Linked DNA regions of Homo sapiens: region 1 is linked to region 2. Evidence: promoter capture Hi-C in human tissues and cell types (Jung and others, 2019). All regions are on one chromosome and are shown on one strand. The core of a region is centred on a gene start or on the middle of the fragment in contact, and the rest is flanking DNA. Distances in the headings are between cores, read along the strand shown.

Region 1 (2,500 bases), core at 1-2,500, 1.3 Mb before region 2:
AGGACCCAGCCCTTGGGCTGTCCCAGTGGAGGCCTAGCTCCAGAAGGACACTTCTGTAGGCCTTACTTTCCACACCCAGGTCCACCCATGCTTCATTTCCACCTCCTCCTCTTTCCCCAGAAGCAGGCCTGTCCCTTCACTCCCGACTTCAAAGCCCTTGCCAGGTCTGACTCCACTCACCTCGAGTGGTCATGATGAGGGTGTTGTCCTCCCGCCCGTACCGGCCAAAGCAAAGGCTGGTCACTGCATCCTATGTGGAGACGTCAGAGTTTAGTTGGGGAAATATCTTGGAGAGGAAAGCAAGACAGGGGATGGGTAGGGGAGGCCCCAGATATAATAGGTGAGAAGTGATAGAGACAGGCCTGGGGAATCGCTGCCTCTGAAATATTTCCTATATTTCTCATCTCCCCTCCAATCTCACTACCTCAGTTCCAGACCAAATATCACTGGCCCTCACTTTTGGGGTCAACCTCCTAATAGATCTCCCAGACTCGTCTTTCGGGTCTTTCTCCCCAGTCTGCCCTTCACAATGCTGCCTTTGCTACCTTTCAAAAACACAAATATGTCTGGTCTCTGATAGAAAACCTCCAATGGCTTTTGTTCTCTTTCTTAGGACACTGAAGGCCTTCCACATTTGACTCCAACCCGCCTTTTCTGTCAGTTCTCTCCTCTTTACCCTTCTTTCAACGAGCATACCACCGGCCCTCCCAGCACCTATGGCCCAAGCCAGTTGTTTGCAAATTTTATACTGTGACACAGGACAATTTACACACACATACACAGTTTCACTTGTGACATACTTTTTTTTTGAGATGGAGTCTCACTTCATTGCCCAGGCTGGAGTGCAGTGGTGTGATCTCCAGCTCACTGCAACCTCTGCCTCCTGGGTTCAAGTGATTCTGCCTCGGCCTTCCCAGTAGATGCGATTATAGGCATGCACCACCATGCTTGGCTAATTTTTCTATTTGTATTTGTAATTATTTATTTATTTTTGTTGTTTTGTTTTTTTGTTTTGAGACAGAGTCTTGCTCTGTGGCCCAGGCTGGAGTGCAGTGGCGCGATCTCAGTTCACTGCAACCTTTGCCTCCCAGGTTCAAGTGATTCTTCTGCCTCAGCCTCCCAAGTAGCTGGGATTACAGGTGTGCCATCACACCCGGCTTTTTTTTTTTTTTTGAGATGGAGTCTCGCTCTGTCACCCAGGCTGGAGTGCAGTGGTGCGATCTCGGCTCACTGCAAGCTCCACCTCCCAGGTTCACGCCATTCTCCTGCCTCAGCCTCCTGAGTAGCTGGGACTACAGGCACCTGCCACCATGCCCGGCTAATTTTTTGTATTTTTAGTAGAGACGGGGTTTTACCGTGTTAGCCAGGATGGTCTCCATCTCCTGACCTTGTGATCTGCCTGCCTCGGCCTCCCAAAGTGCTGGGATTACAGACGTGAGCCACCGTGCCCGGCCCATACCCGGCTAATTTGTTTATTTTTAGTAGAGATGGGGTTTCACCATGTTGGCCAGGCTGTTCCAGAACTGTGATCGCCTGCCTCAGCCTTCCAAAGTGCTGGGATTACAGGTGTGAGCCAATGTGCCTGGCCCTCACTTGTGACATACTTTGAATTTACTATTCTATTTTTAAAAATGTTGCTGGTTGTGATCTACTAAACTGATTTAATGATTCACAACTTAGAGTCTGAAAACCTCTGGTCCAAACTCATCAAATGACCTGGATTCCTTAATCAAGAGCCTTCATACTTCTCAGGCTTTGTGCATGCTATTCTCTGTGCAGAATGTTCTTCCTCCATTTGTCCACCTGACAAACTGTTCTGAGGCCCAGTTGAACTGTCACTTGTTCTGTGAAGTGTCCCATGGAGTCCATCCCCATTTATCTCACCCCCCACCCTTGTCACTCAGCACCCTCTGCGCTTTTTAGCACTTTGCTCTGCTTCAGTCGGCCCTTTTAAATTTGCTATGTCTCTGGCTGGCTGTTACCTTAGACTGTAAGCCTCCTGAAAACAAGGACTTAGTCATCATTTTACCCCCCACCCCTACCAATATGGTGACTGGTACATATGAGGTGCTCAACACATTTTTTTTTTTTTTAAGATGGAGTCTCGCTCTGTTGTCCAGGCTGAAGTGCCATGGTTTGATCTTGGCTCACTGCAACCTCCGCCTCCCAGGCTCAAGCGATTCTCCTACCTCAACCTCCTGAGTAGCTGGGATTACAGGTACGCACCACCATGCCCGGCTAATTTTTGTATTTTTAGTAGCAAGGGGGTTATGCCATGTTGGCTAGGCTGGTTTTGAACTCCTTACCTCAGGTGATCTGCCCACCTTGGCCTCCCAAAGTGCTGGGATTACAGGCATGAGCCACTGTGCCTGGCCTCAACAAATGTTTTTGAAATGCATCAATGTGTGGTCGGAAGAGGCAGCTAAGAAGCCCCAGAGGTGAGACGAGGGCAAGGAGGAGTGAGTGGCAGATGCCGGAGATGGGGCTCACCGGGGTGTGG
Region 2 (7,392 bases), core at 1-2,500:
TCTGTGCGGGTAGCTCCATCCACAATGAACTGGGGGTTTGACAGCAGTTCCTACGAGAGACCCAGAGTCCTGTTCCTCGGCCAGCCCCTCCCAGAAATTGGCACCAGGCCACCCCAGACCCCATTCCCCACCAGGGACATGGAGTCCCATCCCTACTCCTCATCCAGGATCTGGCTTAGCCGAGTCCCACCCAGGATGGCCCCTCTCACCGTGGGACGCTTCCACTTGATGCCATAGGTCTTGGAGGAATTGGGACCCAGGTCCTTGTAACCCAGGCTCTGGGGTACCGGGGGGAAGGCCTCATCACGGAAGAGGGTCCCACTCTGCAGGCATCGCACCCGCAGCTGCTCATAATCCTGGCCCAGGTACTTGATGGCATTCTCATGGCGGCCCAGGCCCAGCTCCCTGGCCCGCTGCTTCTGCACTTGGGCTGACACCCCAGTGCAGTACACCGGCGTGATGATCTCCTCCGACATCCTGCCGGACAGATGGGCCTGCTCAGAACCCAGGCCTTCCCAAGACTAGAACCTGGGCTCCTGCCTGCAAGCTCTGCTCTCCTGCCCCTGCTTATCCATCCCCAAACCTAGGGTTTCCCTGCCTCACTGCTCCCCTCACAGAAGTAGGGTTCTCAGCCACCTCCCGGTGCTCCCAGTGAATCCAGGAAAGGGATTTCCCAGTTCCCAGGCGTGCCGGCCACCTCTCCTTTCCCGGATCCCATTGTCAGGGGCTTGCAGCTCTGTAGTGAGCCAGCAGGTCAGGTGGGGCAGGGCGGAGCCTCCAGACAGCACAAGGAACTGGGCAGGTGGGACACAGCAGGGAAGGCCTCTTTGATCCTGTTCACAGGCCTGCAACCCCCTCCCCAAACTAACCAAGCTCCTGGTGCACCGGCCCCTTGCCGTGGGCTGAAAACCCCAGACGGTCGGGGTCCCCCTCCTCAGGCCCCCGCAGCAGGCTCGATATCAGAGCTGGTGGGCCCTAGCCCAGCCCCTGGGGACAGCGGTGAGCCAGGCTGGGACAGGCGCCTGGGCTGTGCCGCTCCGCCAGCCCCCACCCCTGCTCCAGGAACGCAGAGGCCCCCGAGAAGGGACCGTGCTGGGGCAGCCCCTCAGCCCAGGAGCAGTGGCCAGGGTCAAGGAATCCCGGCTCGGCTACCCAGCTTCTTACCTGGGGGAGGGGTGTTTGGGGGTCGCTGCAGTCCCTGAGGCTGGCTTCCCGGTGGCAGCTCAGGGCAGGGCCCAACCAGGAAGAGCGCTCCTCCCCGCCCTCCTCCCGCCGCCCCTCCGCCCTCCGCCCTCCCTCTCTCCTTCTCCTCCTCCTCCTCCTGGGGCTCCTACCCCGCTTCCTCTCGGCTCTCCCTTATCTCTCCGGCACGGTCTCTGACTATCTCTTACTCACGGTGTCTCCCCGCCCCTCCCTCCGCAGGCCGGGGGCCAATTCCGCGAGAGGACAAATTAGTAAAAGGCAGAGCAGTCCCCGGGGAGGGGCCAGCGCGGGGGGGGATGGGGGGGCTGGGGCGCGGCGGAAGGGCACCGCGGGGAACGGAGGGGGAGGGCCGGGCAGGGGGTATTTTTAACCAGGGGCAGCAGCTCGAGTTGCAGGGCCGGACGGCCGCACCCCACGCGCGCCCTGGCGGGCATTCCGGGGCGATTGTGCGGCGGCGCCGCCTCCCGCAGCCCCGGGCCCGCCCGGTCCCCAGCTCCCCTCGCTCCGCGCGACCGCAGCTGCTCCCGCCGTTCCCAGCCAGCCCCGGCGCGGGGCCGAGATTACCTCGGGCTGCGGCAGCTGCTCTGAGGAGGGGCCGGGCTGGCAGCGAGCAGACCCCTGCCGGACACTCAGCAAACGGCAGCCTCACCCCGCAGGGCCGCGCCACTCCCCTTCCCCACCCCACCGCCGCGTCCCGGCTCAGCGCTCCCCGGGGAACGCAGGGGGACCGGGCTCGCTGCGTGACCTTGGGTAAGTCCCTGCCCCGTTCGGCCCGACTTTCCGCATGCGTGCATCCTATGGGATGGGGTTGGGCAATTGTGGGAGCCCATCTTTCTCTAACGTTCTGGGGTTTCTTGAACCTGGAAACTTAGAGAGGTGGACATCCCTGTTCTCTCCCCCAGGCTCTCAGCCCACCCACCTGGAAGCGCCCATGTGTCACCTTACCCAGGAGAGGGCGGCAGAGGCTGCGAGCAGGACGGCAGCCCCCTCTCCCCACCCCCAGGACCCTGAGATCCTGCTTCACGGGCTGCAAGAAGTTGGGGGGCCAGGATTCGGCGCGGAGGCCGGGGGTGTGGGTGGGGAGACTGCAGAGACTCCCGAGACCCCCCCAAGTCAGGGCTTTTCGCTGGTCTCGCAGCCCCAGCCCAGCAGCTGCTGCAGTCTTGCATGTTGTGGATGCAAGCATTTTGCTGAGGAAACTGCATAGCGTTCCCAGGACTCTAGGGCCCACGACCCCTCAAAAGTTAAGAGCCGCTGATCTAATCTAACCCCACTTTCACCCTCAGTTAACAAAAGAGGAAAACTGAGGCCTGAGAGGGTGTGACTTGCCTGAAATACCTAACCTGGTGAGTGATGGGTGGAACCAGCTCCTAGGCTTTCTGCGCAGGTGTCCAGGGACAGAGAAGGGTGGTTTAAACTAGAGAGGTGGCAGGCAGAAGTAGATGGATTTGATAACTATTTAGGATACACCATCAAAATTTAACTCAAACTGGATTACACACCTAAATATAAATGGCCAAACCATAAAACTTTTTTTTTTAAAAATGGAGACAATCTTAACAATATTGGGTTTGAAAAGATTTCTTTTTTCTTTTCTAAAGGCAGGGTCTTGCTTTCATTGACCAGGCAGGAGTGCAGTGCCCTGATCACAGCTCACTGTAACTTTAAACTCCTGGGCTCAAGAGATCCTCTCACCTCAGCCTCCTGAGTAGCTGAGACTACAGGCACGTGCCACGACACACAGCTAATTTTTAAATTTTTTGTAGAAATGGGGTCCTGCTGTGTTACTCAGGCTGGTCATGAACTCCTGGGCTCAAGCAGTCCTCCTGCCTGAGCCTCCCAAAGTGCTGGGATTACAGGTGTGAGCTTTGGCACCTGGCCAGATTTCTTAAATATGACACAAAAAGTGTAAATGATAGAAGAAATCAATAAATTGAACTTCATCAAAATAAAACGCTTTTGTTTCTCAAAATGCACGAAACTATTAAAAATGAAAAGATAAGCCATAGACTAGGACGAATATTTGTAAAAATTCTATCTGATGTAGGACTTGTATAAAGAACTTTTACAATTGAATAAAAATCCAATAAAAATGGACAAAACATTTGTTTGTTTTCTGGTGTTTGTTTTTGTTTTTGAGATGGAGTCCCGCTCCATCACCCAGGTTGGAATGCAGTGGCGCGATCCTGGCTCACTGCAACCTCCACCTCCTGGGTTCAAGCAATTCTCCTGCCTCAGCCTCCCCAGTAGCTGGGATTACAGGCGCCCGCCACCACACCAGGCTAATTTTTGTATTTTTAGTAGAGACAGGGTTTCACCATGTTAGCCAAGCTGGTCTCAAACTCCTGACCTCAAGTGATCTGCACGCCTCTGCCTCCCAAGGTGCTGGGATTACAGGGTGAGCCACCGCGCCTGTCAAAAAATGGACAAAACATTTGAACAGACACTTCATCCAAAAAGATCTCTGGATGGCAAATAGGCACATTAAAAAACACTGAGTGCATTACTCTTAGGGAAATGCAAATTAAAGCCACTAGAAGGACTGCTTCTAAAAGAACACCTACTAGAATGGCTAAAAGTTAAGATCAACCATACCAAGTGTTGTTATGTTGTCAAGGATATAGAAGAACTGGAGCTGTCATACACCAAGAGAGGGTAAAATGATCACCACCACTTTGGAAGACAGTTTGGCAATTTCTTTAAAATTTAGCGATACAAAGAAATCAGCCATCAAGCTACAAAAAGACATAGCATAACCTTAAACGCATATTGCTAAGTAAAAGAGGCTGGTATTAAAAAGCTGCATACTGTATGATTCCAATAACTCTATATGACGTTCTAGAAAAGGCAAAACTAGCAATGGTAAAAAGATCAGCAGTTGCCAGGGATTCAGAGGGGTAGGAGAGGGATGGAGCACAGGGCATTTTTAGCACAGCGAAACTATTCTGTATGATACTGTAATGACGGATGCATGACATGCATTTATCCAAACCTGCAGAATGTACAACACTAAGAGTGAACCTTAATGTAAACTATGGACTTGAATTAATAATATTGTGTCAATATTGGTTCATCAGTGATTACAAATATACCACAGGCTGAGCGCAGTGGCTCACCCCTGTAATCCCAGCACTTTAGGAGGCTGAGGTGGGCGGATCACATAAGGTCAGGAGTTCGAGAGACGAGCCTGGCCAATATGGCGAAACCCTGTCTCTACTAAAAAATACAAAAATTAGCTGGACGTGGTGGTGGGCTCCTGTAGTCCCCACTACTAGGGAGGCTGAGGTAGGAGAATCACTTGAACCCAGGAGATGGAGGTTGCAGTGAGCCAAGATCACACCATTGCACTCCAGCCTGGGCGACAAGAGCAAAACTCCGTCTCAAAAAAAAAAAAAAAATAGAACTTAGTCACTGGTTAGATATGGCTCTTGGACACCAGGAGAGACCAAAGACAACTTCAGACCCTGGATCTGGCTTGAGCACCTGAGTAGATTAAAGAGAAGGGGGAATGCACTAAGCTGGAGGGACAGTATGGGATCAGGGTATGGGGTATCTTTGGGATCCCCCTATCCAAGAGGAGATTCCTAGGGGTGAGGAACAGACCTTGTGCTCAAAATAGAGGTACAAATTTGGGAGTCACTAGCCACCAAAAAGCAGAGGCAAGGGGGCTGACACCTTGGTCTTCATATGAAGATGCTTCATATAGATGTCAATTCTCCTTAAATTAATCTCTAAGTGTATCACAATGAAAAATTTTAAGAGTCTTCTGGTGGGAGATAAGGAGGGACTAGAAAAGCTGATTTAAAGGTCATATGGCAAATTAAACAAGTAGGAAACTTCTGAAAATAAAAGACATAATGAGTATAGACTAATCCTACCAGATATTAAAACACAACAAATCTATCATTAAAAGGTAATAATTAAAGAGGGTTACTGACACATAGAGATCAATAGAAGACAGAGAAATTTAGAAACAGATTCAAATACAGGCAGGAATGTAGTAGATGATAAAAGTACCATTTCTAATCTGTTGAGAAAAGATGAGTTAATAAAAGACATTAGGAAGAAAAGGGAGCAATCTGGAAAAAAAGTAAGTTGGATTCATAATTTGTATCTTAGAAAAAATTACAGATGAACTCAATTTATAGGTTTGGAATATGTTGTTCCTAATGAAAAAAACATTTAAAAAGGCTGGGTGTGGTGGCTAACACCTGTAATCCTAGCACTTTGGGAGGCCAAGGTAGATGGATCACCTGAGGTCAGGAGTTCACGACCAGCCCGGCCAATATGGTGAAACCTCGTCTCTACTAAAAATACAAAAAAAAAAAAAAAAAAAGCTGGGCATGGTGGGTGGCAGGCGTTTGTAATCCCAGCTACTCGGGAGGCTGAGGCAGGAGAATTGTTTGAACCCAGGGGGCGGAGGTTGCAGTGAGCCGAGATTGCACCACTTCACTCCAGCCTGAGCAAAAGAGTGAGACTCCGTCTCAAAAAAATAAATAAAAATTTTTTTAAAAATTAAAAAATAAAAACTCTAGGTCTGGTGTGGTATCTCACACCACCTGTAATCCCAGCATTTTCGGAGCCTGAGGTGGGAGGCTCTCTTGAGCCTAGGGGTTCAAGGCCTCAGTGAGCACCGCTGCACTCTAGCCTGGGCAACAAAGCAAGACTCCATCTCTAAAAAATCAATAAAAAATAGGCCAGGCGCGGTGGTTCATGCCTGTAATCCCAGCACTTTGGGAGGCTGAGGCAGGTGGATCACGAGGTCAGGAGATCAAGACCATCCTGGCTAACACGGTGAAACCCCATCTCTACTAAAAATACAAAACGAATTAGCCGGGCGTGGTGGCGGGCGCCTGTAGTCCCAGCCACTTGGGAGGCTGAGGCAGGAGAATGGCGTGAACCCAGGAGGCAGAGCTTGCAGTGAGCCAAGATTGCGCCACTGCACTCCAGCCTCGGCGACAGAGTGAGACAACGTCTCAAAAAAAATAAATAAATAAAAATAAAAATTAAATGTTAACCTTCAATATTTAAACGTACAAAAATGAAAACGAAAATACAGCCAGAAGCTGGCTGGGCACGGTGGCTCATGCCTGTAATCCTAGCACTTTGGGAGGCTGAGGTGGGTGGATCACTTGAGGTCAGGTGTTCAAGACCAGCCTGGCCAACATCGTGAAACCCTATCTCTACTAAATATACAAAAATCAGCTGGGCATGGTGGCACACACCAGCAATCCCAGCTACTTGGGAGACTGAGGCACAAGAATTGCTTGAACCCGGGAGATGGAGGCGGAGGTTGCGGTGAGTGGAGATCGCACCATTGCACTCCAGCCTGGGCAACAAGAGCAAAACTCCATCTCAAAAAAAAAAAAAAAAAAATACAGCCAGGAGCTAAAGGAGAAACTTTTTGTATCATCTCAGTGTGGAAACAGTCTTTTTAACTATGACACAAAACCCAAAAGTCATAAAATTGCATTTTTTACTACATTAAAAATCCATACAGTTATGTCAAAATGATGGACTGAAGAAAACATTTACAATTAACATCTTAAAGGAGTATTTTTCTCCATATACATATATAAAAAATCATGTTCTGGGTGTGGTCGCTCATTCCTATAATCCTAACACTTTGGGAGGCCTAGACAGGAGGATTGATTGAGGCTAGGAGTTTGAGACTAGCCTGGGCAACATAATGAGACCCCATCTATAAAAAAATTAGAAAATTAGCCAGGTGTGGTGGTGCATGCCTGTCATCCCAGCTACTCCAGAGGCTGAGATGGGAGGGTGGCTTGAGCCCAGCAGTTGGAGGCTGCAGTGAGCTATGATTGTGCCACTTCCCTCCAGCCTGGGCAATAGAGCAAGATGCTGTCTCTAAGAATAAAATAAAAGTAAATCCCAGCACTTTGGGAGGCCAAAGTGGGTGGATCGCTTAAGCCCAGGAGTTCGAGATCAGCCTGGACAATACGGTGAGACCCTGTCTGTACCAAAAATACAAAAAGTTAGCTGGGCATGGTGGCCTGTAGTCCCAGCTATCCCAGAGGTCGAGGCTGCAGTGAGCTGTGATCGCACCACTGTATTCCAGCCTGGATGACAAAGCAAGACCCTGTCTCAAAAAAAAAAAGTTCACAAATAAAAGAAGACAAATAGGTCTTAAACATATGACAAGATGTTGAGCTCACTGAAAAGCAAATG

The links. Contacts are between HindIII fragments. The study calls those that stand out against the background at their distance.
Region 1: a contact is called between a fragment that was not itself captured here and the fragment with the promoter of CAPN1 in region 2, in 1 of the 25 tissues and cell types used here (hippocampus).

Annotation. Positions count from the first base shown.
Region 1 is chr11:66,523,873-66,526,372 of GRCh38, reverse strand. It overlaps BBS1 (Bardet-Biedl syndrome 1), which reads right to left. Exons shown (of 17, transcript NM_024649.5): 11 at 2,491-2,500; 12 at 181-250. It also overlaps a transcript of ZDHHC24 not described here. Among named protein-coding and RNA genes, the nearest start is that of BBS1, 14 kb to the right of the region's middle. The HindIII fragment of the contact is 5,922 bases long and covers 1-2,500 here.
Region 2 is chr11:65,175,786-65,183,177 of GRCh38, reverse strand. It overlaps CAPN1 (calpain 1), which reads right to left and starts at 1,250. Exons shown (of 22, transcript NM_005186.4): 1 at 1,165-1,250; 2 at 210-477; 3 at 1-50. The coding sequence starts at 476. It overlaps CAPN1-AS1 (CAPN1 antisense RNA 1), which reads left to right and starts at 1,344. Exons shown (of 2, transcript NR_145677.1): 1 at 1,344-1,953; 2 at 2,106-3,307. RefSeq lists enhancers at 1-773, 774-1,563 and silencers at 586-880, 1,482-1,931. The HindIII fragment of the contact is 8,891 bases long and covers 1-3,676 here.